Linked DNA regions of Homo sapiens: region 2 is linked to region 1. Evidence: promoter capture Hi-C in 16 types of primary human blood cells and fetal thymus (Javierre and others, 2016). All regions are on one chromosome and are shown on one strand. The core of a region is centred on a gene start or on the middle of the fragment in contact, and the rest is flanking DNA. Distances in the headings are between cores, read along the strand shown.

What was found. Contacts are between HindIII fragments. The CHiCAGO score rates a contact against its expected background, and 5 or more counts as called.
Region 2: a contact is called between a fragment that was not itself captured here and the fragment with the promoter of C6orf52 in region 1, in 4 of 17 cell types (non-activated CD4 T cells, total CD4 T cells, activated CD4 T cells and 1 more). The highest score is 8.0, in non-activated CD4 T cells.

The regions. Positions count from the first base shown.
Region 1 is chr6:10,692,779-10,696,953 of GRCh38, forward strand. C6orf52 (chromosome 6 open reading frame 52) reads right to left here and starts at 1,838. Exons shown (of 5, transcript NM_001145020.3): 1 at 1,716-1,838. PAK1IP1 (PAK1 interacting protein 1) reads left to right here and starts at 2,194. Exons shown (of 10, transcript NM_017906.3): 1 at 2,194-2,291. The coding sequence starts at 2,208. RefSeq lists enhancers at 1,752-1,801, 1,810-2,412, 1,842-2,221. The HindIII fragment of the contact is 16,030 bases long and covers 1-4,175 here.
Region 2 is chr6:17,707,518-17,711,610 of GRCh38, forward strand. It overlaps NUP153-AS1 (NUP153 antisense RNA 1), which reads left to right. Exons shown (of 3, transcript NR_134618.1): 2 at 1-109; 3 at 3,272-3,510. Among named protein-coding and RNA genes, the nearest start is that of NUP153-AS1, 2.5 kb to the left of the region's middle. The HindIII fragment of the contact is 1,146 bases long and covers 1,139-2,284 here.

The DNA of each region.
Region 1 (4,175 bases), core at 588-3,087:
CTCGCAAAGTGCTGGGATTACAGGAGTGAGCCACCGTGCCCAGCCAAGAAAGATTTTGGAAGAGTGAATGAATACAAGGATTTCCACTAGACTGAGAATTAGTTTGTCAACAGCATTTCAGTGTCTTGAGAAGTGTTTACATTTGGCGTGGACAAAGCTGGCAGATGACGTAGAAAGTAAAAAGTTGCCTCTTCAAAGTTTCCCTTCTTGTTAAAGAATAAATCATAAATGTTAGAAACAATAGTTTCTTTTAAAGACTAACTTACTTCAAGCCTCCTTGCTTTGTGCTAATAACTCTGTTAAGCCCTATTGTATGTAACTGCGGGACATGCTCACAGGCCCAGGCACGTTCCAGCTCACAGCCTGTTTAGCAAATCGGGTATCAGTTTAAGATTATGAGGTCCAGCCCCAGCCAACGGATGCAGGACACAGCAGTAAGGACAACCCAAAGGCGTAAGGGACAAATATGTCTGCTTTTCCTTTGTTCAGGAGTGCTCTCACCATCGTTCCATCTGCAATTGAGCACCCTTTCTGCATAAAGTAAAAATTGCCTTGCTGAGAGATCTTTTGTCTCCATGCTGACTTTTCTTCGTGTCACCAATTATCTATTTCTAACAATAACAAGGTCTTTTCTGCACTGCAGTGACAACCAAAGCATCCCAAATGAAATCATTTCTGCAAGACCCAAACTAGCCTCTATTAACACGTACTAACAATTCAGAACACCAGAGAAGAAAAGTTATTGGAAACAAAAGGGTCTAAGCGCTGAAGCACTGTATCGCACTTGAAATGGAGGCTGAAGATTTGAGAAGGATGGACTATGCATCTTGTTTACCAAATGACCTACTACGGTGTTTATGAGAACTATACGAACCAAGATTTACTCTGTTGGGAGCTTGTAGGAAAGCTGTAATGTCTAAGACATACCTGAATCTCTAAACCTTATTAAATAAAACTTTTTTTTTCTTTGAAAGGGGGCCTGGCTCGTCCCCCAGACTGGAATGCAGTGGAGCGATCTCGGCTCACTGCAGCCTCGACCTCCTGGGCTCAAGCAATCCTCCCACCTCAGCCTTCCGAGTTGCTGAGGCCACAGGCGGGCGTCGCCATGCTGGGCTAATTTATAACATTTTTGTAGAGACGGCATCAAAATATGTTGCTCAGGCTCACTTTGTTTTCCCAACTCTCAAATGAAGGCTCTGGCCGGGCGCTGTGGCTCACGCCTGCAATCCCAGCAACTTTGGGAGGTCGAGGCAAGCGGATCACCTGCGGTCGGGAGTTCAAAACCAGCCTAGCCAACATGGAGAAACCCTGTCTCTACTAAAAAATACAAAATTAGCCAGGCGTGGTGGCGTATGCCTGTAATCCCAGCTACTCGGGAGGCTGAGGCAGGAGAATTGCTTGAACCCGGGAGGCAGAGGTTGCGGTGAGCCGAAATCGCGCCACCGGACTCCAGCCTGGGCAAAAAGAGCGAAACTCCGTCTCAAAAAAAAAAAAAAAAAAATGAAGGCTCACTGCTCCCTCCCCAGGAGGTGCCGCAACCTTGGCCAATACAGCCCCAGAGTTAGACAAGCAGACAGAGAAAGTGTGCAGGGCTGGGGTTCTGGCCCGGGCAGACGGGAACGCGGACACATCTAGCACTCCGAGTCCGTCAAGGCAGCGCGAGCGCTGCGCCGCTGGAACAAGTCACCGCGAACCCTAATCCCACCCCTCCTTACCCTATTAACGACAGAAAGCCTCGTTCCGCTGGTCCCTGAACAAAAACTCCTACCCTACTAGTACACAGCCCACAACAATGCACGCTGCCGGCGCTACAGCCCCTAAGCAACCGGCCGGAAGTCGGCCCCACCTCCTCCTGATGTCACGGAAATGAAGGGCTTCGCAGAGGATGTCCCGCCCGCTCCCTTCAGACGGGCGTAGCTGGCACCTTCCTGAGATATGCCTGCTTGCCCCCGATTTTTTTCTCCTTGCAGTGAGAACCTCCTCATGTGGCATCTTTACTTATTCTCTTCTTGGAAAATCCATGTGACCTCCCCGCGCTTAAAGTGTTTCCACGTTACAGGCGACTTAAAGGCAGCCCTGGAGCCTGACGTATAATTCGAGCGCCGATGCAGAAAGGAGTCAGGTGTTTTTTTTTTTTTTTTTTTGGTTTCCGGTTCTGTCACCTCCAGGCTGAGCCGGGCTGGCGGAAGAGGCACGTGCGCTGCTGAATGGAGCTGGTCGCTGGTTGCTACGAGCAGGTCCTCTTTGGGTTCGCTGTACACCCGGAGCCCGAGGCTTGCGGCGACCACGAGGTGAGATACCGCGTAGTTAGAGACAGTCGGAGGCGGGGCCGGGAAGGTCGGGTTTGGTTCCTACACAGCAGAGGTGAACATTGGAGCGCCTGCTGTTCACTGGATGATTTGATGAATCAAACCTAAGAGACTTAAGAGAAAAGCTAACCTTTTAAACCGTAGAATGGACATTTTATCAAAATGAGGCAATATCTGCCTTTTCTAGTAGACAAAAGGTCCACGGGACACAAAGGAAACCGGCATTTCTGCATACGGACAAATGAGTCGTAGATTGTGGATTTAAGGATCGATCCCATAAGTTGACAGTATTCAGAATTTAATGAAAGAAGATCTCGCTCTTTTGCTGAATTTCTGCCCTGGAATTTTACAAATTACTAGAACTAGATTAGGATAAATCCCTTATAGGTAAAGCGATACCAATTCATTATTTGTTGGGAACTTATGGCGAGCTGGGCGGTGGAGATGCAAAGATGCTGGAGGTATGGATCTTGCCTTAGAGACGTTGCCTACATAAGGGGTGGAGGACTGAGGAGACGCATAGATGGAGAGAAATTACAGCAGAATATGATATTACTAGATGTGTGAATAGATAAAAAGGTCAAATAAATTATCAGTAGTCAAATAGGTAGATAGGACTATACTCACGACTAGGAATCCGACCTCCTAACATCTAGCTCACTTTTATTCTTGAAGCAATTCTAAGCATTTTCTAGAAAATTGAGTACAGTACTTCTTTATGAAGTCAAGGCGTCGGTCTTTAATTATCCAGAAAATTTGGAAGTATATCACTTGGCCTATTGCTTTCGTTTATTTTGTTTCCTACTCCAGTTATTTGCTCTTTGTCTTTGGCTGAAAAGTGATGTGTTTTGAATAGTCAAAGATGATGCTATTTAATTTTTTTTTTTTGTAGTGAAATTACTTAACTGTGTTCCAGACACACAGTAGTCCTCACAGCAACCCTCTGAGGAGGATGCAGTTATTCTCGTTTTGCAGATGAAGTACCAAAATGTTGGTCCTAGATAGGTTAAGTGACTGCTGAAGGACACACAGATAATAATTGACACAGCTGACCCCAAAATGTCAGGAGCCCCCGAGGGTCTCTGACATTTGAAACTCTTAACCATTACCCTATACTTCTACTAAATCTAAGCAATAGCCTAGATAACCTACATTATGTGAATTTTAAAAGGTTATTATTTGATTTAAGGCCATAGCAGACCCGCAAAAATGCTTGATTCAAAGGAGGCCCCCTTGGTCTTAAATGATGGAAGGAGTATCTTCTGTAACTAAGGACCTGATTTGCAGTAACACATGTTCAAAGAAGTTTGATGGGTTTTTTTCTTTTTCGGTTTGTTTTGCAAATACTTTTTGATGCAGTTCCTTCAGTTTAAGGAGTGAGTGAGTGTGTGTGTGTGTCTGTGTATTTTGCTGTCATGCTTCGCACTCATCCAATCAGACTTCCTAATGCTATTGTCACATGGCAATAAGCACAGAGTTCCTGAGATTTCGTTATTGGTGATTCTCTAGAGCTTACGTTGGTACTCATGGAAACATACCTTTACTCTGTTGGTTTTTCTTTATAAGACTTGTCCACTGGGCGCGGTGGCTCATGCCTGCAATCCCAGCACTTTGGGAGGGCGAGGCAGGTGGATCACCTGAGGTCAGGGGTTCAAGACCAGCCTGGCCAATGTGGTGAAACCCTGTCTCTACCAAAATTAGCTGGGCATGATGGCAAGTGCTTGTAATCCCAGCTACTCAGGAGGCTTAGGTGGGAGAATCGCAGTTCATTGCTGTGTATCAACTGCTTGGAATAGTGCCAGACACATAGTAGGCACTCATTATTTGAAAGAATAAATTCAAATAAAAATGTGAATATCTGAAAAA
Region 2 (4,093 bases), core at 462-2,961, 7.0 Mb after region 1:
TTGTGAGGAGCAGACGTGATCATCTATGGAGAGCATGTATATTTGCTAATAGACGAAAAATGCGATGAATGATTACAATTATAACCCATGCAGTCAGCTAACATTAGGGGTAAGTGATATATCCTTAACAATAAAAGTATACTATATTTGCTCCAAATATTTAGGAAACTGAGTAAGTGAGCTAGACTCAAAGACTGAATCCACAAAATGTATATTCTAGGAGTTGACGATTAGAAAGGTCCTGGTGATCACATAGTCCAACCCTCTCATTCAACCAACCAGACAAGATGTCCAGAGAAATTTAGGTGGCACAATCAATGACACTGAGATGGGTAATCAAAGCCAGGACTATAACCCAACTTTTCTGTAAGAGCTAAAGACAAATAGCCAAATGATTAGGGAGGAAAAATATGTTGTGAAAAATCTTAGACTTACTATAAATCTTTTTTTTTCTTTCTTTCTTTCTTTCTTTTTTTCTGAGAGACAGAGTCTTGCCCTGTCGCCCAGGCTGGAGTGCAGTGGCGCGATCTTGGCTCACTGCACCCTTTGCCTCCCAGGTTCAAGCTATTCTCCTGCCTCGGCTTCCTAAGTAGCTGGGACTACAGGCGTGCACCACCACGCCCAGCTGATTTGTGTATTTTTAGTAGAGATGGGGTTTCGCCATGTTGGCCAGGCTGGCCTTGAACTCCTGACCTCAAGTGATCCACCCGCCTTGGCCTCCCAAAGTGCTGGGATTACCCGTGTGAGCCGCCACGCCCAGCCTATTTACTATAAATCTCCCACTTACTAGCTGTGTAGCCTTGGGGAAGTTACTGATCCTGTTTCTTTCTTTTTTTTTTTTTTTTGAGACGAAGTTTTTTCCTCTTGTTTTGCCCAGGCTGGAGTGCAATGGCGCAATCTCAGCAACCTCCACCTCCTGGGTTCAAGCGATTCTCCTGCCTCAGCCTCCCGAGTAGCTGGGATTACAGGCATGTGCCACGACGGCCGGCTAATTTTGTATTTTTACTAGAGATGGGGTTTCTCCATGTTGGTCAGGCTGGTCTCGAACTCTCAATCTCAGGTGATCTGCCCACGGCCTCCCAAAGTGCTGGGATTACAGGCGTGAGCCACCGCGCCCAGCCCACTGATCCTGTTTCTAAGCTTCGTTTTTTTCATCAGCAAATAGAGCGAATATTGACCTCACAGGGTAGTGGTCTGGTGAAAGGATTAATGTATATCTAGTTCATAGTAACTGCTTAGATAGAAAGCATCCAATATCAACCATCAATCAGATATAAATAATTAGTTCCAAGACATTTATACTATCTCCACAATCAAACTGCACAATTCAGGTTCATTGTTTAAATCATACAAGTGAAATTGTAAAGCCAGTCTTCTAGTACCTTTGAACTTGTACCTTTCAGCGCCTAAAGAAACTATGCTATACCAAGCATAGGTGTACACATCAATGGCTTTCAGTGGCACCTCTGACCATAACCATCAAGATCAAGACAAGTTGCCAAATATGATAAACAAAATTAATCTATTTTCCGCTGTCTCATCCTAGCTTCATGCCTCCTCCCACCACTAACTTCCCACTAAATTCTCCAGGTATGCCCCCTCTTCCTCCTGAAGCACTTCATCTTTCTTAAAGACAGTTGTTTCCCTCAGGTGCTATCTTCCTCCTATGCAGAAATCCTATTCTTCCACAAATCCATAGCTAGATATTTGACAGCCAAGTAAAGTAATTCACGATAAGCTAACTCATAGGGAAGATCTGTACCTGAATCTTTAATTGGGTTATACGTAGAGGAGATTAAACCATAGCCACATCCCATCTGCCCTCTTCACTCTATGAGACCCAGAGTTTCCACCACAGAACAGAGGACTGACTGGAATCAAAGCTCACCCCTTTCTTGGAGGCTATTCTTTGATGTGCTGGACACCCTTCACAGCCAACCTTTGAAAGGAAGAGAGACGCGAAAGAATTGGGCCAAATGTAGACAATGCTTCAGAAATAGAAGATTGGTAGAACTTGAGGAGATATGGGAAAATCCACATTCCTTTTACCCATGCTCTCAACTTTTTACCCATTTCCACAATTATTTTATTTCTTGGAAGTAAAATAGTATTTGAGGGAACTATAATGCATTAATCTCACATTCATGTGATTGAGTCATTGGAAGCCGTGCCAGGCTTGAGAGCAGAGAAGGAATAAAGAGACAGGAGGAAATCTGCATTCAACCTGGACCTAGTTTTTTCAGCCAAATAAATGGCATATTGGGAGACACTGCAATTCATGAAAAGCTTGTTGCTACAATAGTCCTCCTCTGCCAAGAAACTTCTTTATTTTGTTCCCCATATAATATAGTAGAAAGTGGCCGAGCACAGTGGCTCACACCTGTAATCCCAGCACTCTGGGAGGCCAAGGCGGGTGGATCACTGGAGGTCAGGAGTTCGAGACCAGCCTGGCCAACATGGTGAAACCTGTCTCCACTTAAAAAAAAAAAAAAAAAAATTAGCTGGGCGTGGTGGTGCTCACCTGTAGTCCCAGCCACTCGGGAAGCTGAGGCAGGAGAATCGCTTGAACCATGGAGGTGGAGGTTGCAGTGAACTGAGATCATGCCACTGCACTCCAGCCTGGGCCACAGAGTGAGACTCCATATCAAAAAAATTAAAAAATTAAAACAACAAATATATATATATATGTATATATATATATGTAACCAGCTGCCAATTATAAATTAGCAAATAGGCTGCTGACCCATCTCTAATAGATAAGGAGTATCCACTAATTAAAAGTGAAATACAATTTAGTCTAAACCCAACCTAGATTGAAAAAGAGCCATCATACATTCTTCAGAAGGTACTAATACAATTCTGGCCAAAAGAATGTTTAAAGATGACAAGTACAAGAAGTTACGAAATTTTATGTAGTTATTCCACCTTACCAAAACAAAATGAGGTATCTGCTGTGATGTCTATTAAAACAAATTATCACACTCATGCACAGCATAACAATGTTTCAATCAACAATGGGCCCAATATACAATGGTGGTCCCATAAAGAGCTGAAAAATTCGTATTGCCTGGTGATACTGTCTTTGTCCTAAGGTCTTATTGCAACACATTACTCACGTGTTTGTGGTGATGCTGGTATAAACAAACCTACTGTGTTGCCATTTGTGTAAAAGTGGAGTATGTACAATTATGTACAGTACAGAATACTTCATAATGATAAGTGGCTGTTTCTGGTTTATGTATTTACTATACCTTTTTTTTTTTTTTAACAGGCACTCCTTGCCATTTCCTGTTGCTACCATACTTTATTATTTTAAAGTGTATTCCTGGTCAGGCATGTGGCTCACACCCATAATCTCAGCACTTTGGGAAGCCAAGGCAGGAGGATCACTTGAGGCCAGGAGATTGAAACCAGCCTGGGCAACATAACGAGACCCCTTCTCTACAAAGAAATGAAAAAATTAGTTGAGCTTAGTGGTGTGCACCTGTAGTCCCAGCTACTAGGGAGGCTGAGGCAGGAGGATCACTTGAGCCCAGGAGTCTAAGGCTGCAGCGAGCTATGATCTCACCACTGCAGTCCAGCCTAGGTAACAGAGTGAGACCCCATCTCTAAAGAAAAAAATAAAGAAAATGAAGCTATTGGGTTTATTTATTATTTATTTATTTATTTATTGCCTGTTTGCTTGTATTTTAGGGAAAGAAGGGCCACACAACGGAAAGATATTTAAGGATGTAAATCATTGTATTCTCATTAACTTACTGTGTTCTCTCTCTATTGGGAATAAAGTAATATTTAAGACTAAATTAACTAATATGAGCAAATTTTGATTAACTACATATATCACTTGATTCCAACATGCCATATATTTCCTCTTCCTGACTACATGTATCAATGTATACTAGACTTTGGTATATATGTGTTTATGTACATTACATTATAGTTTAAGGCATATTTTAAATTCAATCTTGAATGGAAACTCAGTTTTATTGGATGAAATAATAACCAAATTTAGGAAGGCAATCCCATCCTAACATTTAAGACAGTTAATGAATTAACTGAGATTAATTCATTAAAACACAAATATTTATTGAGA